Linked DNA regions of Homo sapiens: regions 2, 3, 4 and 5 are each linked to region 1. Evidence: promoter capture Hi-C in 16 types of primary human blood cells and fetal thymus (Javierre and others, 2016). All regions are on one chromosome and are shown on one strand. Each heading gives the region's core, a stretch centred on a gene start or on the middle of the fragment in contact. The rest is flanking DNA. Distances are from core to core; before and after follow the strand shown. Region 1 holds the start of ARL6 (ARF like GTPase 6). Region 2 overlaps CPOX (coproporphyrinogen oxidase). Region 3 has its middle 27 kb from the start of GPR15. Region 4 has its middle 9.4 kb from the start of GPR15. Region 5 has its middle 27 kb from the start of OR5K4.

What was found. The method cuts DNA at HindIII sites, captures the fragments that hold promoters and counts their contacts. A CHiCAGO score of 5 or more calls a contact.
Region 2: a fragment that was not itself captured here is called in contact with the fragment with the promoter of ARL6 in region 1 in 7 of 17 cell types (activated CD4 T cells, total CD4 T cells, non-activated CD4 T cells and 4 more); the score reaches 11.2 in activated CD4 T cells.
Region 3: a fragment that was not itself captured here is called in contact with the fragment with the promoter of ARL6 in region 1 in 5 of 17 cell types (total CD4 T cells, activated CD4 T cells, total CD8 T cells and 2 more); the score reaches 7.8 in total CD4 T cells.
Region 4: a contact is called between a fragment that was not itself captured here and the fragment with the promoter of ARL6 in region 1, in 1 of 17 cell types (total CD4 T cells). The highest score is 5.0, in total CD4 T cells.
Region 5: a fragment that was not itself captured here is called in contact with the fragment with the promoter of ARL6 in region 1 in 4 of 17 cell types (non-activated CD4 T cells, naive CD4 T cells, total CD4 T cells and 1 more); the score reaches 8.0 in non-activated CD4 T cells.

The regions. Positions count from the first base shown.
Region 1 is chr3:97,761,706-97,766,642 of GRCh38, forward strand. It overlaps ARL6 (ARF like GTPase 6), which reads left to right and starts at 3,053. Exons shown (of 8, transcript NM_001278293.3): 1 at 3,053-3,272. RefSeq lists enhancers at 2,384-2,885, 2,521-3,060, 2,886-3,385, 3,101-3,210. The HindIII fragment of the contact is 6,880 bases long and covers 421-4,937 here.
Region 2 is chr3:98,574,717-98,579,653 of GRCh38, forward strand. CPOX (coproporphyrinogen oxidase) reads right to left here. Exons shown (of 7, transcript NM_000097.7): 7 at 4,730-4,937. Among named protein-coding and RNA genes, the nearest start is that of CPOX, 16 kb to the right of the region's middle. The HindIII fragment of the contact is 1,823 bases long and covers 2,112-3,934 here.
Region 3 is chr3:98,556,555-98,561,491 of GRCh38, forward strand. No RefSeq gene overlaps it. Among named protein-coding and RNA genes, the nearest start is that of GPR15, 27 kb to the left of the region's middle. RefSeq lists enhancers at 1-428, 1-9. The HindIII fragment of the contact is 478 bases long and covers 1,833-2,310 here.
Region 4 is chr3:98,538,940-98,543,876 of GRCh38, forward strand. No RefSeq gene overlaps it. Among named protein-coding and RNA genes, the nearest start is that of GPR15, 9.4 kb to the left of the region's middle. The HindIII fragment of the contact is 1,555 bases long and covers 2,112-3,666 here.
Region 5 is chr3:98,324,594-98,329,530 of GRCh38, forward strand. No RefSeq gene overlaps it. Among named protein-coding and RNA genes, the nearest start is that of OR5K4, 27 kb to the right of the region's middle. RefSeq lists enhancers at 32-1,231, 1,841-2,439, 3,868-4,605, 4,606-4,937, 4,894-4,937 and a silencer at 2,447-2,506. The HindIII fragment of the contact is 5,045 bases long and covers 452-4,937 here.

The DNA.
Region 1 (4,937 bases), core at 1,803-4,302:
AAAAACTAGTAAATATTTTTGTAGCGATTTTATATTGGAAAATATTTTGTGAGATTCAAGTAAATTAAAGTGTTCATTGCAGAGGCAGTACTGCACAGAAATTGCAGATGAAAAAAGGGTACACATAACATCAACTGTTGAAACACAGCTTTAGACCAAAGTTTACACCAAAAAGTTGCAGTAAGTTATAAATCAGGGATTATCTATATTCTTTTAAAAGTTGCTGGTGAGAAAATAACGCTAAAGTATCCTGAATTAATCAGAACAGTGCTGTGTTCATTATATCTGACTCTTTTCTTTTTTATAATTTTCTTACTACAGTTCTAAAAGCCAGTATGAAATTAAAACTGGTGAGAAGGTACCTAAAATTATCTTCTGTTATGGTTAAGTGGCTTTAAGAAAATCACGTAGCATTTTTAAAGCTTGTTATTGTCATAATAAAAAAGAGTCAAACTAACTTCTTAAATCAAGCGAAACAATTGTATCTCAGCCTCTGAATGTACTCGTGAGAGGAGTTTCAGTTGACAAAGCACCAAAACAGCAGAATCAACCATATGAAATATTTATATGTATTTATTTTTAATAGAGATGGGGTCTCCAACTTCTGGCCTCCGGAGATCCTCCTGCCTTACTTAGCCTCCCAAAGTGGTGGGATTACAGTGTGAGCCAGTGTGCCCAGCCTTTATGTTTTTTGTTTTGTTTTGTTTTTGAGTGCAGGGTCTCACCCTTTTGCCCAGGCCAGAGTGCAATGGCACAATCTCAGCTCACCGCAACCTCTGCCTCCCCGGTTCAAGCGATTCTCCTGCCTCAGCCGCTTGAGTAGCTGGGATTCCAGGAACGTGCCACCACACCCGGCTAATTTTTGTATCTTTAGTGGAGATGGGGTTTCACCATGTTGGCCAGGCTGGTCTTGAATTCCTGACCTGGTGATCCACCTGCTTCAGCCTCCCAAAGTGCTGGGATTACAGGCGTGAGACACCGGGCCTGGCAGCCTTTATGTTTTTTTAAGTTTAATATTTTCAAGGCTAACATTTTTTTCTAGATTATTTTACTGCTTTATTTCATAACATTTATCTCTAGTAATAAGCCATCTATCAACTATACTTATCTAAGATAACGATTTGACTAGCTACATTTTTGTAGAAGAATTATCTATCTGCCTTGTTTTCCTGAAAAGTTGGATGCTCAATATGTCCATTTTATTTCCAGTTTTCACCAAATGTTTTATATTAAGCCAAAAGAGATGAACTCAACCTAGAGGCAGAAAATATCAACTTTTAGCAGGAAAAATTGAGTCTGTCCATGAAAGTTTTCTGAAATATAACATTTCTGCCGATCGCTAAGAAAAAAAAATGTTATATTTTGGCCGCAAGCACATTAGCTTCCATCTCTTACAAGTAAGTCACAACACCCAGGCACACAGAAAAGTGTTCAACACCTCCCTGTCAATGCATTCACGATTAGAAGTTCAGAAGTTAAAGAACCACCATAGTTACGGTTTGGGTCAATTTTGTTTACACAATAAAAAGCTCAAGACAAAAGAAGACAGGACATTATTTATTGAACAATAAATATGTGCCAAACATCTGTATTTCTGTTATCTTTAATACTCAGAACTACCAGATAAGATAAATACTATATTTTTGAAGGTGAGGATAGAAGCACGGAGAAGGGTAAATTGGGCTAAGACCACACAGTAAGAAAGAATGTATTTCCATACTCCATTTTTACAAGGACATTTATATGTTGATATGCATCCATAGGGTCTTTGTTTTGTTTTTGTCTTTCAACAAGAATCACTAATCCAGAGCCGCTTTTGTTTTTTCGCTGTAAAAATGACAATTACATTTGGAAATTTGGAGAAGTGACAAAAGATAAATCACCCCATAATCACACGCTTACAACCGTCCCCCCTACCATATTACTTTGAAATAATTCCTTCTAGTCTCTTTTTGCACCCTCCTAGTCCATTTAATAGGCCAAATGAATTGACAGGCCAAAGAACAGGCAGTGCAGTAAACATACACTAGCTAGTTGAAAAGGGTCGCGCGGTGGGGGGCAGGGGGTCGGAAATCCTACACCCATGCAAACAAAAAAAATGAAGAGATACAAACCCCTATTTGAAGAATGAGGCCATTCGCTGGGGGTGAGGTTAGTGGAGTTGGGCAGATTGAAAGGCTAGATCTTTAAAATGACTGCATCTGTAATGTGTCCGTTGGAAAACGCAGTAATAAAAGATGTGGGGAAGGGTATGCCTAAATATTTTCTATTTGAAGACCATTTGTGACTATGACTATAAAATCCAAGTGCAATTTAAGAAGGTGGTCAACTTTAAGTATTGACTATTAATACCTTTCCTGACCACCTGCCGATTTGATTCTGGAGACTGTAATCTACTCACAGGAGATTATGCCTGGTAGAAATCTCTTCGGGAGACCACACAACTAAGAAGCAGGGGTACAGGCATACTTTATTAGCCGAATAACACCTTTTGACTTTTTACACCAGTTCTCCCCTCTACCTTCCTGTATTAACAGTTTTACCTCTACAGGGACTCAGGGTGGGAGGCCTATCAGAACCCAGAGAAGAGTCGGTGCGATGGGCAACTGGGGAACTCCGGCGCACATCTTGCCCCAGGGGGGACAGTATCGTCTTGCAGTCGTTGCCACAACGCTACGCTGGTGCCCGGTAACGACACTCTCCGCGCCACACCCAGCGCCAGCCTCTTGGATCCCCAGGAAGACCAGGGCCGAGCGACAAACACGCAGCACACGCGAACGCCAAACGCTTCCCAGAAAGCTGTGCGCGAGCCTACAACTCCCATGATGCTACGCCGGGAACTGCCCGGCTCCTCGCAGGAAATAGGCAGCTCACCCTGCCACCTGTGCACACATTTTTCTTCAATGTATAGTTCCTCGGCGCGCCTCTGACCTTTTCCCGGAGCTCTTCAATCCCAGAAGCTATAGCACAACGGCTGAATCGCCAGGACCCCCGGGGAGGCGTGGCTTCAGGACCGGAAGAAGCTCCTGTTGCCAAGGGAACGGTGCCTGCCAAGGCGCCTGCTCAGCGACTGATGCACAGACTGCTGCAGAGGCTGCCGGTTTTCCCAACTTCTAGAGACGGCTTTGCTCATTACCAGGCATCCTTCCCATGTAGGCATCGAGAAGAAGGCTGAGGGACCCTCGCACCAGATTTCCATCCCGGAGACCGATACGAGTGCGTCCATTCCTGTTGCCAGCTCCTGCGCCCTCCGGACTAACCTCAAAAACCAGGTATCTCCTCAACGCCGGTTTTTAAAGCCAGCGCCACCCTCTGTCCCCGTCAGTTTTAGAATTCCTCTTTGGTCTTTCCCATGTTTTTCACTCCACGCGTGTAGTTGTTGCTAATGTATGAGAAGTAGAAAAGAAGGTGAGTTATAGAGGCCCTAGAAAACTTACTAAACTGGTTTGGACGTATGTTTGGTTGATGGGTTTTAACAATGCTCAACTTAGACCCGTGTATTGGGGGTGTGTGTGTGTGTGTGTGTGTGTGTGTGTGTGTGTGTGTAAGTGTAATTTAAATTATATCATAAAAAACTGAAAGCCGAATAAGAATGTTTATTTGGGGTAATAAAAGTAGGCAACATTTCAATCAACAAACACTTTACAGAGTTTACTAAGTATCATTCGTGGTGTTTTCTCTGGGCTACCACTCTGTCTCTGCAGCTTACCCTCTAAGCTGTTAACTGTGGATAACATCCTAATTCTTCTGGACTTCTCTGGCAATATGTAATCCTTTAGGAAACAGTCTGTCAGACAATAACCAAGAGAATTTGGCTGGTGTGCAAAGAGAGGGTTACAGTAAGATAAGAAACAAGAAAGGAAGATTGGAGCCAGATTGTGGACAACCTTAAAAGCTGTGCTTGGAAGTTTGAAACTACTGGCTTTATTCTGAAAGCCAGTAGTTCTCAATAGTAACTTCACATCAGAAACACTGGGTAGCTTTTAAAACTACAGATGCCCTGATCTTATTTTCAAAAATTCGGATTCAGCAATTGATTTCAGAGTGCAGCCAGGGTTGAGAATCATGGCTATCAGAGTAGGAAGCTGCAGAAAACAGTTGTGTCTCTCGCTGCACACTTAAGACACGATTAACAAATATTGACTGGCTTCAATTATCTTTTATTTATGCATGCAGAAAGTCAACTTATGGAAGGAAAATTATAACTACTTGAAACGTAGAAGTTTAAAGGCTCTATGATAGTTGTTTATAAAGCAATTTCAATAAATGTGATTACCTCTTTTAGAAAAACTGCCTGCTCTTCTAAATTGTGTGTCCCAAAATATTTCATTAACAAGTATCAAGTGATAATCCATGGAAAAGTGATGGAAAGTCACAATACAAGGTACTGTGAAAAACGAATATTCAAGCATCAGGCTTTAAACACTCAGTGCTTTATAGTAGATGCTTAAAGGGGGGAAAATGTGAGAAGTTGTCGTTTTTAAAACATAAGTTCTAAATTATGAAATGGAGAACAAGATATAAGCATTTATATCAATATGTTTATGCAGTAAATAAAGTGAGTAATAGCAAATTTACTTTGAAATCAAATGGTATGTGTGAATTGCTTCATGACATCAGAAGGTTAATTTAAAATAGATTTTACAAATGCTGGTCCTTAAGCTGTAATTTAAAGAAATGGACTGAATAAGATTTGAATCTCTGATACAAGGAGAAAAGCAGATTGAAGTGGCACAAATGGAAGTACCTGAGGTCAAACTCATCCTTGGGGAAAGACAAACGTGGTTCTGTAATAGGCCTCACCTTTTGGCATGGCACTGTTCCATCTCTTCTCTGCACATCACTGAAATTTAGTTTTGAAATTTCTACCCATAATCATATCCCAAAAGGCCTAAGCAAAATGTTGACTATGCAACCTCCTTTTAGATACAGTTGTC
Region 2 (4,937 bases), core at 1,773-4,272, 810 kb after region 1:
TACAGGCGCCCATCACCACGCCTGGCTAATTTTTGTATTTTTAGTAGAGATGGGGTTTCACCATGTTGGCCAGGCTGGTCTTGAACTGCTGACCTCAGGTGATCCACCCACCTCGGCCTCCCAAAGTGCTGGGATTAGAGGCATGAACCACCGTGCCCAGCCTGTATTCAGGTAGTATTAATTTAAATGGTCTTTGAGGACATCTGAACTAGTTATTTTTAATAAACTACAGTTTGAACTACAAGAAATTGTGGATTTGTATATTATACTAATGGTTAGAAGAATGTCAAGCAGCAGGTGTGGAACAGATTCTAAAAGCCTGTCTCCCTCATCAAGTCAGAAAATGGAAGCAATCTTGAACCGATCTGAGCATAGATAAATTGCTATAAAGACTTTTATTTATGAAAGCATTATTCACTTGCTATTACATAAGAGGCATTCAGCCAGTACAGCTTTGTGAACTTTGATACCTCTCAACCATCTCATAAGAAAACACATCCATGACAGAGTCAGTGTTGCAACTCTAAATGACTGCAAAGTCAATTTACTTTCCTAAGTGGCTGTATTTGCATCAACCTATTGAAACCATGATGGCTTGGATTATGACAAGTTTTATGTTCAAACGCATTTTGAAATATGAAGGGATTAACAGTAAAAGAATTATTGAAAATACTGTTTGAATGAGCTTAAGATCTAGAATAGAGCTGGCTACACTGATCGGAAGAGGAAATGCAGTTCAACTACCTTGCTCTGCTGGTATATGTTAGTGAATATCCAGTATAAAACCACTTGTAGGCCGGGCACCGTGGCTCATGCCTGTAATCCCAGCACTTTGGGAGGCCGAGGCAGGTGGATTACCTGAGGCAGGATTTCAAGACCAGCCTGGCCAACATAGTGAAACCTTGTCTCTACTAAAAAAATACAAAAAATTAGCCGGGTGTGCTGGCTCATGCCTGTAATCCCAGCACTTTGGGAGGCTGAGGTGGGTGGATCACCTGAGGTCAGGATTTCAAGACCAGCCTGGCCAACATGGTGAAACCTTGTCTCTACTAAAAAAATACAAAAAATTAGCCGGGTGTGCTGGCTCATGCCTGTAATCCCAGCACTTTGGGAGGCCGAGGCAGGTGGACCACCTGAGGTCAGGATTTCAAGACCAGCCTGGCCAACATGGTGAAACCTTGTCTCTACTAAATAAATACAAAAAAATTAGCCGGGCGTGCTGGCACATGCCTGTAATCCCAGCTACTCGGGAGGCTGAGGCAAGAGAATGGCTTGAACCCAGGAGGCAGAGGTTGTGGTGAGCCAGGATCGCACCATTGCACTCCAGCCTGGGCAACAAGAGTGAAACTCTGCCTCAAAAAAAAAAAAAAAAAAAAAAAAAGCAACTTGTAGAAACAGGTCTGTGAGTGCATTATTCTGTTTTCATACTGCTATAAAGAACTGCCCGAGACTGAATAATTTATAAAGGAAAGAGGTTTAATTGACTCATAGTTCAGCATGGCTGGGAGGCCTCAGGAAACTTACAATCATGGCAGAAGGCAAAAGGGAAGCAAGGCACCTTCTTCACAAGGCAGCAGGAAGGAGAAGTGCTGAGCAAAGAAGGGAAGAGCACCTTATAAAATTATCAGATCCTGTGAGAACTCACTCACTACCACGAGAACAGCACGGGGATGGTTTACCCTCATGACTCAATTACCTCCACCTGGTCTCTCCCTTGACACCTGGGGATTTGGGGGATTACAATTCCAGGTGAGATTTGGGTGGGGACACAAACCCTAACCATATCAGTGAGGTTTTATGTTGTACAACTTATGACTTGATTTCAGGTAACAATACAAGGGAATTTAGTCAAGCCATTTACAAATGTCTAAGCGTCACTAACTTAAATGTGCTAATTTAGGTTTATTATGAAATTGGATTGTTATGTGTTTCTTTGGGAAGAAAGATGAAATTTTAAAATGTGAGATTTCAAATACATAATTCATACTTGTGGCAGGGATAATACAATACATCCTTGAAAACAATTTCTAAATGGGCTTTTAGAGATACTGGGAACTTCTGTTTTCACAGACTAGGAATAAGACAGTTATACAGACAACTAAACAACACTAAGCTTGATACTACGATATATTGCAAAACAGTGTTGGAAAACAAAGGTTAACACATCATTCATTAGGTAGCAGGTACTATAAATAAGGAAAGATCCACCTTCAATATTTTGTAATAAGTGGGATGTGGATTGAATGACTGTAAATGGAATATGTTGACAGCAATACTAAAAGTAAAATGTGTTGAAAGGGTAGAAGAGATTGACTCCAAGGAAGGTTTCTTGAAGAAGATTTAAAATGGGCATGGAAGGATGAGCGGGCACATAAGACATTCCAAGCAGAGATAGCAGCAGCCTGAGAAAAGGCCAGAGGGGATATAATTTGGGGGAAGTTCAGGAAAAGTGGTGAGTGGTGAGTATATGGTCTGAGACTGAAGTGCACAGAGAAATGTAGAAGATAAGCCTGAAACACGAGGTAGGAGTTAAATGGTGGATTGCTTGAATGTCAGACTGACTTTAGAATTCTGTCTGGAGAGGAGATTCTTTGACTATTTCAGCAGGGTGGTGATAATGGGACCTAGGAAAATAATTCTGAAGAGAGGGAAAGGTCAGAGTGCCCAGAGGCAGGGAGAGCATTGCAAAAGTTCAGATGAGAAAGTATGTGAGACTAAAGTAGGGTGGTGGCAAAGGGCAGAGGAAGGAAACCAGGAGCCATTTCAAAGGGGGACTCAACAGGAACTAATTAGGGCAATGTGGAGGGTTGAGTCCAATCTATTTCGTGGTTTTGAGTGTGGAAGGCTGTGTGGAGGTTTTGAAGATGACTGGGATCTAATTCCCTACCACTCGAATCTGGAACTGTCCTTAATGACAGACTTGTCAGGAGTCCAGTGGAATGTGAAGAAAGTGACACTACATAACCTCAGTGGTTAGAACAGAAAACCACCATACTGCCTTTGCCTTTTTCCATGGAATTCGTGCTCTGAGCCACCCATAGGCAATGCAGCCTGCAGTCCAAGATGAGCTGAGCCTTTGAGTCATCCTCACCTATGTACAGACATGCAAGTCAAAAACCTGCAGAAGATTCCTGTCTCTAAATATTGTAACAGCAAAAGACACATGGAAGGATAAGTCATAAAGAAACATTTGGCTTTTCAAATCTTGTACTCCTTAGCGTGCAGAAGCACTTATCTCAAATACTCTGCTGACTAGGAGGGTCAGCAGAGTACAGTGATGAACAGAAAATAGTGGTTAAAAATTTGCTCCAGAGAATTGACATTTCTCCCCTCCAGACACCCTTTATTACCATGAACCTGCATGCATAAGACAGTTAGGTGTTCAGGCCATCTGGAGGTGCACTGTGGTCTTCAGGTAGACTGAATTAACACCAGTAAGAAATTGAAAGAGAAATTCACTTTGAATAACAGTAGGATAATCTGTTTTCCAGTAGTTATGCAATTCTTTTCAGACATAGTCTAATCCATAGTAGAAATACGTGGTTATTGAAGAACTGAAAACAAATGCACAGAAAAATTTTATCTTCATTTACCCGCCACAGCTTTAAACACAACTAAATAGGCTAGCATTTTAGCATTATATCATCACTATGTAGTGATTTTCTATTTTTTAAAAGCTAAACTGAGGTTGATCTGAACATTTGTTCCTATATGCCTATATTTTTCCTAGTATTAGATTTATTGAAGTATTATTCACATATACAATAAAATTCCATTTTAAGTTCAGTGAATTTTGATAAATGTATATACAGTCTAGTAACCATCACAATCAAGATGTAAAACATTTAAATCACCTCAAAATACTCTTTTGTCCCCTTTCACAAATCTGCATCCCCTAACCCCTGCCATCCATTGATCTGCTTTCTGTCATTAAAGCTTTGCTTTTTCTAGGTTTTCCTATAATGTAGTCATATAGTAAGTACTTTTATGTGTGGCTTTCACTTGGCATAATGTTTCTGATGTTCACCCATGTTACTGTCATTAGCAATAGTTATTCCTTTTCATTGCTTAGTATTTTAATATACGCATATATCACAAGTTGTTTATCTGCTCACCTGCTGTTAGCCATTTGGGTTGTTTCTAATTTTCAACTATTGAATAAAGCTGCTATGAAAATTGAGTACAAAACTTGTATTTTTCTTGAGTAAAATACCTAGGAATGAGGAACTATGGCATTAGCATAGCTGAGCCTTGAACAACACAGGTTTGAAGAGTTTTGCTTCTTCGCAGATTTTCTTCCACCTCTGCCACCCTTGAGAGAGCAAGACCTACTCTTCCTCTTACTACTCCCACTAAGCCTACCCAACATGAAAACAATGAGGATGAAGACCTTTACGATGATTCACTTCCACCTAATGAATAGCAAATATATCTTCTTTCTTACGATTTCCTTAATAACATTTTCATTTCTTTAGCTTGTAAGAAGAGTATATAATACATATAACATAAAACATGTGCGAATTGACTATGTTATTGGTCAGGCTACCAGTCAACAGGAGGCTATTAGTGATTAAGTTTTGGGAGAGTCAAAAGTTATACAAGGATTTGAAACTGCATGCAGTAAGGAGGAGTTGGGGCCCCTAGCCCTAATGTTGTTCAAGGATCAACTGTACTAAGAAATATATGCGTTTTCCTATATTATCCTGGCAACAAAAAATATAAATATTTCTTAGTCTTATTTAATAATAAAATTTATTAGCAGATCTCTTGTAAGACAGTTGAAGAATTCATACATTTTCCAGCCCCAAAAAGGCCACACAGAATCACAAACATTCAACGTGTTCCACGATAATGATATGTATGAGATGCTCTTCCTTATAAACTTTATTACGAAGCAAATAAAATAATACATTCATAATATATGAACAAAGAAATCA
Region 3 (4,937 bases), core at 822-3,321, 790 kb after region 1:
CCAAGAAGACAAGTGGCAACTGGAAACAGATGTGAAGAAAACAAGAATAAACACCTTTTTCAGAAATATAACAACTGTAACAAATAATCAGTTTTTCCAGTTCCCACCTGTACACCATGCTCTCAACTATATACTGCAAGTTAAAACAGAATTGATCATGGTTCTGTATTTTTAAATTCTCTCGCTTTCTAAATACATCACTTCACTTTTAACAGTCCAAAGAGCTCTTTATAATTTACTTCCTCTAAGGTAAATTTAGGTGCAATTTTAATAGACTGGTAGGGGCAAATGCCTCATTCCCACCCAAAGGGTTGAGGAATGAGTGATGGACACGGTGAGCTAGGAGAAGTAGAAAGTGATCAGTGCCCTGTGGGAAATAATGGGAATGTCACAGGTTTCTTCTTTTCTGGGTCACTGGGGCATGCCTTTTGATTGAGCATAACACAGATTAATGTCATTGCCTGTGGATTTTGGAAGGAAATTGCAACAACTTTGGTTGATCACTTACTGGAGTAGAGACGGGGAGAGACAGATACTTTTCTACTTTACATGCATTTCTATTTCAATCCTTTAAGCAACCAGGAGAGTAAATATTTTTATTCCAATTTTAGGATGAGAAAGTGGACACATGGAGTTAATAGAAAAGGAGAGTAAAAATGATGGAATACAGGCAGACTGGCCCCATTGTCAAACCGTAGTCTGAATGTTTCAAAAGCACATCTGCCTTTTTTGTGACCAATAACCAGCATTTTTGTATAACTACAATTAGTGAAGCATGTCCTCATATATTATCTCAATTTATCCTCATTAAAGCACAGATAGAATGTGCTATTCTTAAGCTTGTTACTCAGGTGAGAAAAACGAGTTTCAGGGAATTCTCAAGATCACTCATCCAGGAAGTGATAGAGCCACCACCAGAACCCAAATCTTGTGCCTTCAAATCAAATCCTCTCCTCTTTCAGTTTTGCCTCTCACCTCTCATCTCCACTCCCATCCTCTTATGATTCATGGGAAGGTTGTGAGCTGCCGTAGACTCTCACACCCACTTGCAAGCTGAACTGGAGCTTTAGCCTGTCAGCTACACAGCTTCCTTGTAGCACTTGAATTTTTCATCAGTTATTTGCACCTTAATATGACAAAGGATATGAGATGAGGTTTTTTTGTGACACATTGTAATAACCCAAAGTTGTTAGTTTACATTAGGGCTCACTCCTGGTGTTGTATATTCTATGGATTGGGACAAATGCGTAATGACATACATCCACCATTACAGTATCATACAGAGTAGTTTCACTGCCCTAAAAATCCTTTGTGTGCCACCTATTAATCCCCCCTACTCCCCACAACCACTCATTTTTTTACTCTGAGATGAGTTTTTAACGGTAGGAAAAAAAAAGAAAATTTGAACAAACAGAAATACAGAAGATGAGGGCATTTAGTACTTAAAATATGTGGGATTATGTGGGTGGGAGAATTGAAGATCTAAGGAGAAACTGCAACTTTGTAAGTGAATTAGAGACACATCTTTCTCTTCCCCACCCATCCTCCCGTCTTGATAAAGACTCAGCTCAGTGGTTTGCAAACATTTTTTTAAATTTAATTTTATTTTATTTTAAGTTCTGGGATACACGTGCAGGATGTGCAGGTTTGTTACACAGGTAAACGTGTGCCACAGTGGTTTGCTGCATCTATCAACCCATCACCTAGGTATTAAGCCCAGCCTACGTTAGTTATTTATCCTGATGCTCTCCCTCCCCCGACTCTGACAGGCCCCAGTGTGTGTTGTTCCCCTCCTTGTGTACATGTGTTCAAAAACCCTACCTTGAAGTCAAAGCTTACATATATATACATCACATATTAGGTAAGAACATAATTGACATAAATTTGTGTTGGAATAAAAGCATAGCTATTTTAATCAGATTTATAGTCCTATATGTACTTCAGCATTCACTTCAGCTGTTTGGAAAAAAAGAACAAAATAAGAAGCTGGATCTCTCTCAACCCTTATGTCAAAATACATTTCTGGTGCAGTGATGTGCTAGAGTTGGCATATATCAGCTGGCAAGAGCCAACTGTGCACATCTTTTCCTAACTCTGTGTTCAGCGAAGTCACATGGGCAGCTTGAAATTGGACATGATGGGAGTATTTACACTTTGGAAATTGGCAAATACTACAATTCAGAGCTTTTTGTTGTTGTTTTGAGAGCCAATTTTGTAGTCATTGCTACTGGTAGGAAAAAACTAGTATCTTATTAACTCAGAAGATAATATGGGAGTTTTCCTTTGAACAATTCCCAGTGTGGTAGGGAAAGCTTTATAAAACCTAAAATCTTTTTCTAAAAGATACATTTTACACAAACACATAGACCAATGGAACAGAATAGAGAACTCAGAAATAAGACTGCACACCTACAACCATCTGATCGTCGACAAACCTGACAAAGACAAGCAATGGGAAAAGGGTCTCTATTTAATAAATGGTGCTGGGAGAACTGGCTAGCCATATGCAGAAAATTGAAACTGGATCCCTTCCTTGTACCTTCTACAAAACTAAAACTCAAGATGGATTAAAGACTCAAATGTAAAACCCAAAACAATAAAAACCTTAGAAGAAAATCTAGGCAATACCATTCAGGACATAAGCACAGGCAAAGATTTCATGATGAAAACACCAAAAGCAATTGCAACAAAAGCAAAAATTGACAAATGGGATCTAATTGAACTAAAGAGCTTCTGCACAGCAAAAGAAATTATCATTAGAGTGAACAGACAACCTACAGAATGGGAGAAAATTTTTGCAATCTATCTGATGGGCAAAGGTCTAATATCCAGAGTCAACAAGGAACTTAAACAAATTTATAAGAAAAAAACAACTCCTTTTAAAGGTGGGCAAAGGACACGAATAGACACTTCTCAAAAGAAGACATTCATGCAGCCAACAAACATATGAATAAAAGCTCAATATCACCTATATTAGAGAAATGCAAATCAAAACCATAATGAGACACAATTTCATGCAAGTCAGAATAGCAATTACTACAACATCAAGAAACAACAGATGCTGGTGAGGTTGCTGAGAAAAGGGAACACTTTTACACTGTCAGTGGGAATGTAAATTATTTCAACCATGTGGAAGACAGTGTGGCAATTCCTCAAACATCTAGAAGCAGAAATACCATTTGACCCAGCAATCCCACTACTGGGTATATACCCAAAGGAAAATAAATCATTCTATTTTAAAGATACATGCATGCATGTGTTTATTGCAGCAGTATTCCCAATAGCAAAGACATGGAATTAACCCAAATGCCCATCAATGATAGACTGGATAAAGAAAATGTGATACATATACACCATGGAATACTACGCAGCCATAAAAAGGAACAAGATCATATCATTTGCAGGGACATGGATGGAGCTGGAAGCTGTTATCCTCAGCAAACTAATGCAGGAACAGAAAACCAGGCACTGCATGTTCTCACTTATAAGTGGGAGCCAAATGATGAGGACACATGGACACACGGTGGGCAACAACACATGTTGGGGTGTGTCATGGGAGCAGGGGGAGGGAGAGCATCAGGAATAATAACTAATAGATGTTGGGCTTAACACTTAGGTGATAGGTTGATCTGTGCAGCAAACCACCATGGCACGCATTTACCTATGTAACAAACCTGTATATCCTGCACATGTACCCCAGAACTTAAAATAAAAATTGATGAAAAAATAAAAGATACATTTTACTACAAAAAGTAAACATTTTCTGCCCTAAAAAGATGTATAAACTATGTTACAATAAAAATTTCAAAATGGGGAAAAACATGCATACTTATAAAAAAGGGCTAATTTTCTTATTATACAAAAAGCTCTAATAGCAAAAAGATCAATTCAATATAAAGCGAGTTAAGATATAAATTGGCAGTTAACAGAAATATAAATATAAATTGTCAATGAATATTTTATAAATGCTCAACCTCCTGCATAACTAAGTCCAAGTTGGAAAAAAAAAAACTTTTTTAAAAGTTATAAAATGGCAAAATTATAGTGTGAGCTTCAATGTTGAGGGTAGGTATGGAGAAGCCCACTCATTCACTGTGGGACACTGTTAAATTAAATTGCATATTATTAAGTGAAATTTAAAATTCACACTCTTTTCAACTATTTTCAATTCTATTCCTAAGAATTTGTTTTACAGACTTTTTATATTCTCACAAAAATAAGTAGACGTGGATGATCATTGTGACATTGTTTGTCTATTAGTTATCTACTCCTGTGCTTAAAAATTACCCCAAAACTTTAAAGTTTAAAGTCATAATAGACATCATTATCTCATAGAGTTTCTGTGTCTCAGTTATTGGAGAGCAATTTAGTTGAGTGGCTGTTTCATGGGGTTGTAGTCAATGTGTTGACAGAGACTGCAGTCATCTCAAAGTCTGACTGGGGCTGGAAGATCCAATTCCAATTTGACCTGTGGGCTGACAAGTTGCAAGAGGGCCAAGCTCCTCACCCCTTGCCTCCCAATATAACTGTTGGAGGATCTTCATGATAAGTTAACTGGCATCTCCCAGAATGAGTAATTCAAGAAAGTACAAGGCAGAAGCCACTATGCTTTTTATAACCTAGTCGTGGAAGTCATATGTTGCCATTCGCACAATGTCTTCTTGTTACACAGGACAGACTAATTCAATGAGGGAAGGGAATACACAAGGAGATAATGCTCATTGGGGGCCATCTTTTGAGACTGCCTGCCACAGTTTGGAAGGATGAAAAAAACAAAGAAAGGAAAAGTATCTTAATATCCATTGATAAAGTACTGGGTAAATAAATTTTTAAACTTAATTAAATGTTATAGAGCATTTAATATATTAATTAAATGTTATAGAGCTTTTAATATATATTTAATATGTAATATAAAATTATAAGGTGTTTATTAAAAA
Region 4 (4,937 bases), core at 1,639-4,138, 780 kb after region 1:
CTCACTCATTCTGTCATCCAGGTTGGAGTGCAGAGGCACGATCTTGACTCACTGCAACCTCCGCCTCCAGGATTCAAGTGATTCTCCTGCCTCAGCCTCCCGAGTAGCTGGATTACAGGCATGCGCCACTATGCTAGGCTCCTTTTTTTTTTTTTTTTTTTTTGGTATTTTTAGCAGATATGGAGTTTCACCATTTTGGCCAGGCTGGTCTCAAACTCCTGACCTCAAGTGATCCGCCCACCTTGGCCTCCCAAAGTTCTGGGATTACAGGCATGAGCCACTGCACCCAGCCTCTTTCTTTCTCTTATACACATACACAAACACACAAACATACTGTATACAGTTGCAGCTGAAAAGCATCTGTTGAATGTTGCTGTTAATATTCAGACTGAAGTACTTGAGATGAATTTAACTATTTTATCCACTAACAAAATACAGAATACAAGAAAGGAGAAAATAAAGCAAAGAAAAAGCATAGTAAATAAAGAACACAAAATAAAATGGCATATGTATGCATAAATATATCAGCAATTACAAAAAGCATATAAATGGATTGAAATTTCTACTAAAGAGTTGAACATGGCTGGACATAGTGGCTCAGGCCTGTAATCCCAGTACTTTGGGAGGCCGAGATGGGAGGATCACTCGAGGCTAAGAGTTTGAGACCAGCCTGGTCAACATAGTGAGACCCCATCTCTACGTAAAAAAAAAAAAAAAAAAAGTTGAGGCGGGGCGTGATGGCTCACGCCTATAATCCCAGCATTTTGGGAGGCCAAGGCAGGTGGATCACCTGAGGCCACGAGTTCCAGATCAGCCTGACCAACAAGGAGAAACCCCCTGTCTCTACTAAAAATACAAAATTAGCTGGGCATGGTGCCAAATGCCTGTAATCCCAGCTACTCGGGAGGCTGAGGCAGGAGAATTGCTTGAAGCCGGGAGGTGGAGGTTGCAGTGAGCTGAGATCACACCATCGCACTCCAGCCTGGGCAACAAGAGCGAAATTCCATCTCAAAAAAAAAAAAAAGGTTGAACAAATATATATATATATATATTTGTATTTGTTCACAATAAATATATATAGTGATATATGTATATCACTTTATTCGACTCTATAGGAGTTAAAAAGGTAGAAGCAGAACTTGTTTTTCATGGAGTTTAGAATCCACATAGTTGTTTATTTTTTTTAATCAAAGAATGAAATAGTGACACCCAAGAAGAGCCCGGTATATGCAATGAAAATTACAAGTCAAATAACTTTCCTTGGTCTTTTCCAATGTTTAGGAGAAGCCCATACTTAGTCCATATACAAGTCACTTATGTAATTGTCATTTTGATATGGTTATTTCCTAAACATTGTTACATTTCCTTAAAGTGTTCACATTAGCATCCTCAAATGAAAATGCTATCATTGTCTTTATAGATGTTAAGACTCTCGAGTCTTAAAAATCTTTAAGACTTTAAACGTATAGACTCATTATTTTAAACACAAGAACACATCTTGAACAGTATTAGGTTTAAATTTATTTCCAAATGACAAACTAAAAAAAAGTATGCAAAGCAAAGTAGATAACTTTACATGAACCTTGCCCAGCACAGTGATTTAATGAGATGCCCTTTCATTTGGCCTTGAGTTAGAGCAAAAGCAAAACTGACAACTCAGGTGGAGAAGTGGTAAATGAGAAACGAAACTTGGCCTGTGGTTTCATGTTTAAAGCAAAAATACAGATTCAGAGCACTTGAAGATAGATGAGAATGGCTACCTTATTTCTAATAAAAAAGATGTTTATGCAATTCAGACCTGACTTGTGTATGTTAATAGAAATAGCTTAAAAATCGGAAAATCAGTAAAGAATTGAGTAAAAGTCAATTCAGAACTGTATAACTTAGTCCTCAGGATTTCAAATCAATGTGTCTTTCCTATAATAATTCAAACATAGAAAAGAATACTGCCAAAAAGTTTGTAAATTTATATTTAGCATGATACATAATATTAAAAAAAACAAAATATGGTTTTACCTATTAAACTGACAAAGAGTGAAACATTAAATACTAAGGTTGACCAGGATTGGGTCTGCGGGTGTGAGGGAAGCTTATTGAGTGTAAATTGATTAAGCTTTGTAGAAAAAATTTAGAAACCTATATCAAAAGCAATTCCACTTCCAAGATTTTGCCCTAAAAAATCATTACGGCCAGGTGAAAAGACATATGCACATGTATTTTTATTGCAGCATTGTTCATAAAAGCAGGAAAGTGAAAACAATCCAAATGTCCAAATTGACTGAGTAAATTAAAATTCATGCACTTTCTTACAATGGAATACTATGCAGCCTTTAAAAATACTGTACCATATACTGAAGTGGAAAGACCTTAATAATAAATCCAATGAAATTAAGTGAAAAAAGCAGACTACAAAACTATATCTATAGGATGACCACATTATTTGTGACTATTTTATTCATATATGAATGCAAAAATACTGGAACCCTATACAGCAAAATGTTAACTTTGTGAAGTTACAAGTGATTTTTATATTTATTATTACTTGTATTTTCCAAAAAAAAATGCATTAATTTTGTAGTAATAAAAAAAGCTAAAATTTAGTTTAGGCTTTCAATGAAGTACCCAAGATAAAAATAGTAGCTAAATTTATTATAAAACATCATTTCTGAGTTGTAGGTCCTCTAGTTTTTCAATTACTGTGTTTCTGATCTGTGAGTATAATCCCTACATTGGCCTTGAGACCTCCCCTAGTAATCATCTGTTTCTTTCTAGGATGACCCGCTGTTTCCTTTACAAGTACCCAATTCCTTAAAAGCAACAGTTTTAGAACTGCTATGCATTTAAAATTTGAAAATGGTGATGAACATTTCAGCATGCAGGCAGGACCTTTATTCTCCCATAATGTCTCTTAGCACAGCAACTATTGCATCCTGCATAGTGACTCATCTGGTGCCATGTCTGTCCACCAGGTAGGAAGAGAGCTCCCTCCACCCTGGGGATGGGGGAAGAGAAGAAGCCACATCTTCATTTTTTGTAGCCATATGCTTGGCTTCTTCCATATCAAGCACTCATCATTGTTGAACTAAACTGAACATGCTAGAAAAATCTCACCATTGATTAAAATAAAAATGAAAAACATTTAAAATGTTAAATATTAAATTTTTATATTCATACTTTTGCTTGAATGTCTTTTGTTTATGATATGCTGTAACTATGAGGGACAGGGAGTCTATTACAGTCATCAGGAGCAATCTTGCCACTGTCCTTTAACTTTTTTGATCATTCCAGCTGTACTTGAGTAGAGAAATAACTGATGCAATATCCTTTACTTCAGCCCTTTCTTGGTGTAACATTGATTTTCTATTTAAATGGAAAACTTTTCTGAATTCAGGTCCAATATGCCTAGTATTGGACCAAAAATAGTGATTTCTAATCACTGTGTGATAGTCAGGAGTTCCACCGGCTATTGCCAGGGTATTATAAATCTTTCCACAAACTCCAAACCTATATTCCACATTAGATAATAAGTAACTTATGTGACTATGCACTTTTGAGAGAGACTGAGAGTGGGATTATGAAGTCAAACAATTGATCAGAAGATAACTTCTATAAAGGCTGTTGCTCTGTTTTGGCTCAGCCCCACTGCTCCAGAAGGTACACGCCATAAGCTTTGGCAATGCCCGTGTGGTATTTAGTCTGTAAGCATGAAGAATGCAAGAGCTGTGAGGCATGACTGCCTCCATTTAGGTTTCAAAGTGTAATGCCTGGTGGAGCTGTGGAAGTGTAGTGACCCCCAAGATTACAGAACTATAGGATACCAGTGTGAAACTCCAGCTTGGGACAGCTAAAGCATGGACTGAGCCCAGCAAAGTCATAGGGACAGGGCTGTCAGAGGCCTTGGGAGCCCAACTCCCACCTCAGTGTGCCCCGGATGCAGGACATGGAGCCAAAGGAGACTATTCTCTAAATTTAAGACTTAATGTTGCTTTCCCTGAAGGGTTTTGGACTTGCTTGGGACCAGTTACCCCTTCTTTCCTGCTTCTCTCTTTTGGAATGGAAATGTCTATTCTATGCCTATCTCACCATTGTGTCGGATCTCACCATTGTATCGTGGAAGTAGATTACTTGTTTTCATTTCACAGGCTCACAGCTGGAGAGTATTAGCCTCAAGATAAATTGTAGGTTGAGTGTCTGATTTAGATGAGACTTTTGAGTTGATGCCAGAATGAGTTAAGACTTTGAGGGCTATCAAGATGGAATGAATGTATTTTGCACATAAGAATAAGATGAATTTTGGGGCAACAGGGATGAAGTGCTGTGGTTTAAGTGTCCCTGCCAAAACTCATGTTGAAATTTAATTGCCACTGTGACAGTGTTGAGAGGTGGGACCTTTAGGAGGTGATTGGGTCGGGGCTCCACCCTATGAATGAATTAAGGCCATTATTATGGGAATAGGTTAGTTATCATGGGACTTTGGCTGTCTGTTTCCCTTTCTTTTGCCCTTCCACCTTCTGCTCTTCAGTCATGGGATGACCCTCAGCAGATACCAGCACCATGCTCTTGGATTTCCCAGCTTCCAGAACCATGAGCCAAACAAACTTCTTTGGTTTATAAATTACCTAATCTGTGATATTCTGTTATAGCAGCAGAAAATGAAATAAGACAGATGTCAAAATGCTATTCTGACTAATTTTCCATTGCTGGCACTTCCTAAAAAGAACAGAGTTATCTCAACTATCATGATATAAAATGTTTAAATCATCAATTTATAATTTTTGTTATGACTTAACTGTTACCATTGGGAGGGTAAGATAGCATTGTGGTTAAAGAACACTGACAGAACTGAATTTGCCATTTATTAGCTATGGAAGATGAGCAAGTTTCATAACTTTCCTGAGCCTGATTTCTCTCTATAAAATAGGAACAATTATACTTGC
Region 5 (4,937 bases), core at 1,724-4,223, 560 kb after region 1:
TCAACTTTCTTTTGCTAATAAAAATGGGGGAGAAAAAGTTGCTTTCAAGTAAAACCGGCAGAATTACTAGAAAAAGTCTGTTTTAATAACTAATCACAATGATAACCTTTTAAATATGGAAAGAACTTTCAGATAATGCTAATATATTAATAAAAAACTTGAAGTTTGTAAAGTAAAACTTAAAGTCAGATCTCCCTTTCAAACACAAATTCTGCTCAGAAAATGAACTTTGAAATTTGAATTAAAAGAGAAGAAAAGATTCCCAGAGTTGACACTTTAACACCAAAGTTAGTGATACAGGAGCTAAGAAGAAATTATTTAGGCAGACAGTGAGGGTAAAGGAGTCCTGGGCAAGGCTTCCCTTTTAATAAAAAGCAGCCCCCAAATCATTTCTTTTCTAACAAAGAGCAGCCTGAAATATTAAGCTGCAAACATAGATAAGCAACCTGGAAGCTTGCATAGATAAATGCTGGCGGCTGTGCCGACAGGAATAGGCTACCTGGGAGCCAGGCATGTTCAACATGGAGGCGCCATCTTCCGTTTTCTTTGCTTTTCTTCGTCACCACGTGTGCAGTCAGGGAGTAGGCAACGTGGTGCCAGCCAGGTAGAGAACTTATATACATAGTAAAAGATTAGGGTGGGGCGGCCAGCTTCTTTGCAGGCTATCCAAACAGCACACCTGGCCTGACCAATCTCTCGTGCCCTATGTAAATCAGACGCTGCCTCCTCAAGCTCCTCTACAAAACCCTGTGCACTTAACCATGAAACTGGCAACCCATTTTTCTCCGGGACCCCTTTCTGCGCAGAGAGCTCTTCTCTTTCTTTTGCTTTTAAACTTCTGCTCTTAACTTCACTCTGGTGTGTCCGCGTCCTTGTTTTCCTTGGCATGAGGCAACGAACCTCAGATATTACCCCAGACAAACAATGCCGCTTCATTAGGATAAATATTTATCTTAAAGCCTTTGAGCCTTTCCATTTTTTTCCACTTCAGTCTTTCTCTGGTATTTCCCCTCTGCTTCTCTGGCTTGTCTTTCCTGCACTTTTCCATTTACGACCCCATAATTCTCTGCTTATTTCTCTGTTCTCCATCTTGTTTTCTTTTCACCTACCCAAATTCTCTTTCCACTTCTCTGTCCCCTTTCTCCTTTAAATGTATTCCTCTCCTCTCTTCCTTTGAAAACTTTTATTAAATTGTTCTATGGGAAATTCTTTTTTACATTTGTCTATGGGCAGTAAAAACATGCCAACCATTCTTCACATTTCATGGAGCTTTCTGTAGCATTTTCCATTGTTTCCCATTTATTTTGAATTACTCTCTGACCTTAACTCTGACGCAAGTGCTCTACTAACATCACTAAAAATCTTTTAATTTTCACACTCAAAGATCTCTTCTCACTCCTTGTCTTGCTGTAGCATTTTTTTTTGGCATTTAGCCCTGTACTATATTTTGTCTTTCTTTAGTATCCTTCCCTCTTTATGTCTACAACTCTCAGCTTTCCAGTTTCCCTCCTGCTTCTCTGATCACTTCCTTCAGTATCTTTTTCTGGTCTCTTTGTTGTCTCTCTTTTGTTTGAGCCAGGATTCTCAGTTACAACAGGAAGTAAGTTTATTACATGGAAATCTGTCTAAAATAGAAATGCTAAGGAAGTTGGAGGATCAGCTGGAAAAATAGGCAGAAACAGAAGGAAGCAAGACAGCCAGTCAACAGCTAAAGCCACGTTCCAACACTAGCTGATGAGGGCTGTTCTTCCTGCTGCTGAACTTGGGTGCCACAGCCTCCACTGCTGATGCCACTGTTGCCAAAGTCAAGGATGCATTAGCTAGAGTCTTGTCATTGCTGCCTTTGCTACCAAATTCTCTTTTGTTCCTGTACCTTTATCTTCCCTCTCCAAATTGCAAAACTATGGAGGGTTGGTTTTTAAACCGTCTTTGCAGAAATTATAACAGTAAGAAAATTATGGCAGTAAAAGAGATCTATCTAACCCACCTCCCATTATGCCTTTCCCTTAATTATTCCTGGGATTTTGGGCTGAACTAACTTTGACAGACATTTAGTTAATAGTTTAAATGATAATAGGCCTTCCCCAAAACTCAACAACCTTTGTAAAGCTAATGAAAGGCCCTCAGGTTGGGGGAGGAGAGGAATCTGAATTCTGCTAAGGTATAGACATAAATGATTGCCAACCATTCCTGCAAATAATACCAGTATTGTAGATTGGCCTTTTGAGATATCTTTTCAGGTTTTTTTGCATGTCTGACACCCATGGCTCCACCTGGACCCACCAACCCATCTCCTGTGGCCCCACTCAGAGTGATTCAATGCACAGAAGGACAGCTTCAAACCCCTACGATTTCATCTCTGACCCAACACATCAGCAGTAAGCACCCATTACCTGGCCACCCCCACTCCTTCCCCCAAACTGCCACTGAAAAACCCCTAACTACAGGCCTTTGGGGAGATTCATCTGGGTACTAACTTTGTCTCCCACATAGTGTAGCTGGCCTGATGTCTATTAAACTCTTCCTTTACTGCAATGCCATCATCTCTGTGAATTGATTTTGTTTGTGCAGCAAGCAGGAAGAAGCCCTCTGGCAGTTACAATTTGACTGGCCAAACTCAGATCAAGTGTTTCACTCTAGGTGCAAGATAAATGTGAAAGTGTGTTTCTACCTCTCTGGTTTCTAGAATGGGTGGTAACTTCTTCCCACCACCAAGACACATGTAGATGAAAAGGGGATGGCTAATAATTCTAATAAATGAGGCATATACATATTATCACCTCTGTAATACAACTTCCTTGAGTTTTTCCTTCCACTTTGTGTACTCTCCAATTGCTAGGTCTTCCATAATGATTCCTTCATCTACTCCAAACCAAGTCATTATTTCTAGTAAGTTCCAGTAAATTCATACTACTAAGTTCATCTGACCTGGATATTCAGATGATTCTCTGTTTGAAATGCTTGTTCCCGTGCCATAAAGAAATAGCACTTGAACATAAATTTAATTTATTTAGTAAGGTCATTTTTACTTCCTGTAGAAACGGTACACTCACCAGCAGTTCTGCCACAAGAGTACACCAAAAAAAGGAGATGCATCCTGACGCATCCACCCTACTGCTGTGTCGGGTTTCCGTGGGCTGGAACAGGACCTCACATTCTGTATTTGTCCCGATTGGCTAGCAACTTAGAACTTTTTAAAAGAGGCAAAGGTAGAGGAGAACAAAGAAAGGAGGAAGTCACTTGTGGAATGTTGAGAAAGGTAAAAACACTTTTAAATAAGGAAGAGGAACAGGCTATGACCTAACGCTTGCTTGGACCAGTATAAGTATGCCAGGGCAAATATTTAGGCTAAATTGTGGAAGCTAAGAACATAAAGTACGTTGATTTCTTTATTATGGCTAGCAGATATTTAAGAATGTTAGCACAGGTCTTTGAATACATTTTGCTTCTAAGAGAAGTTACTATTTATTCCTAATTAGACGGGGAGGAAAGTCTTTGAAGAGGAACCTCTGCTTTACTTTTTACATTCTCCTTCCACAAATTTGCCAATGCATCTGAGCTCTCAATCTGCGTTTTTGATGGCCATCTGCCCAGCCCATATAATTCCATTCTCCTTCATTGGTCACCCCCTACATATCCAAAATGTCATTAAGTCCTTATGACACTACATTTTAAATTCTTTTGAATCTATTGCCTTGTCCTCCTTATCACCCCCAAAGTCATATCACACAAGGACTAAGCACTTTGCATGCATTTGAGTCACCTGGGGAGCATGTTAAAAATGGAGACTTTTAGGCCTCCTTGTTGAACTACTATTTCTACAGTAATACCTTATAATCCATATTTTGCACAAAAAAAGGTACCCAGTTTATTCTGATATATAATCTTGTCTGAGACACATTGGACAATAGTAACTAAGTTTCCTTGTTAGTGTGCCTGATTCCAGTTTCCCTTTCCTGAAGGCTATTTGGCACAGTAAAAGGTATTTAATTTTTAAAAATTTAGGTTTTACCAAGGTGGCCAACTAGATGGAGCTGAAGTGCTACTCCCACAGGAAAAGACAATGATTTCAACTACACCAACATAATTTGAACAGATTATTTGCAGAGAAAATGCCAAATATGGATACAGAAAAGATGCAGTTGCTGAGGCTGAAGAGGGAGGGAGCTGGGAACTCCTCATGGGATGCCTGAATGTTATAACTGGTTCCCAGCCCTGAACAGCACCTGAGGAAGCGGTGCGTGAGAGGACTGGAGGACTGCCCACTCTCACCACAAACCTCTGGGAACCTAATACAGGGGCCCCACACCCCTAGGATGTGTGAGCTGGCAAGGGGGATCTCTCAGAGATTAGATGGAGCAGAGCACAGGTTAGCTCCAGCAGAACCCAGTCATGAAAGCCCACCAGCCAGGGCTGCCTGTCTGCCTCTGAGAAAGTCTAGCCCCAGGTAACCCCTGGGAGAAAGCAGGGCCTGCTTCCCCGTGGGCCTGGGGCACATCTGTTCTGCAGGCTGACTGAGCACCAGACCCTCCCAGAGCCCCTGCCTGGCTGCCTGGAAGGAGCAGTTACACAGTGCAACCTCCACTACCCAGCCTAGATGCTTTGCTCCACCTGAGTGCGTTCCAGCTGGGAGCCATTGCAATCACGCACCACACCTGGAACCCAACCCTGAGCATCCGAAGGAGGGAGCTGAGAACAGGTCCTGGCGCCCCAAGGATGTGGGCTCAGGAGTGCCAAGGTGGAATCTGTGCTTTGCACTTGAAAGGAGGAGGATCCCACACTCTCTCGGAAGACTGAGAGGGCTGAGTTGCACAGATTCGAAGGCTGGTGTGGGACCTAGCTGTGTCTGGCTCCACAGGGCTGGTCTGGTAAGGGTGCAGCCTATCTCCCTACCTGGCCTCTCCCTAAGGGAGCCCCATGGCCTGAAAGACTTAGCA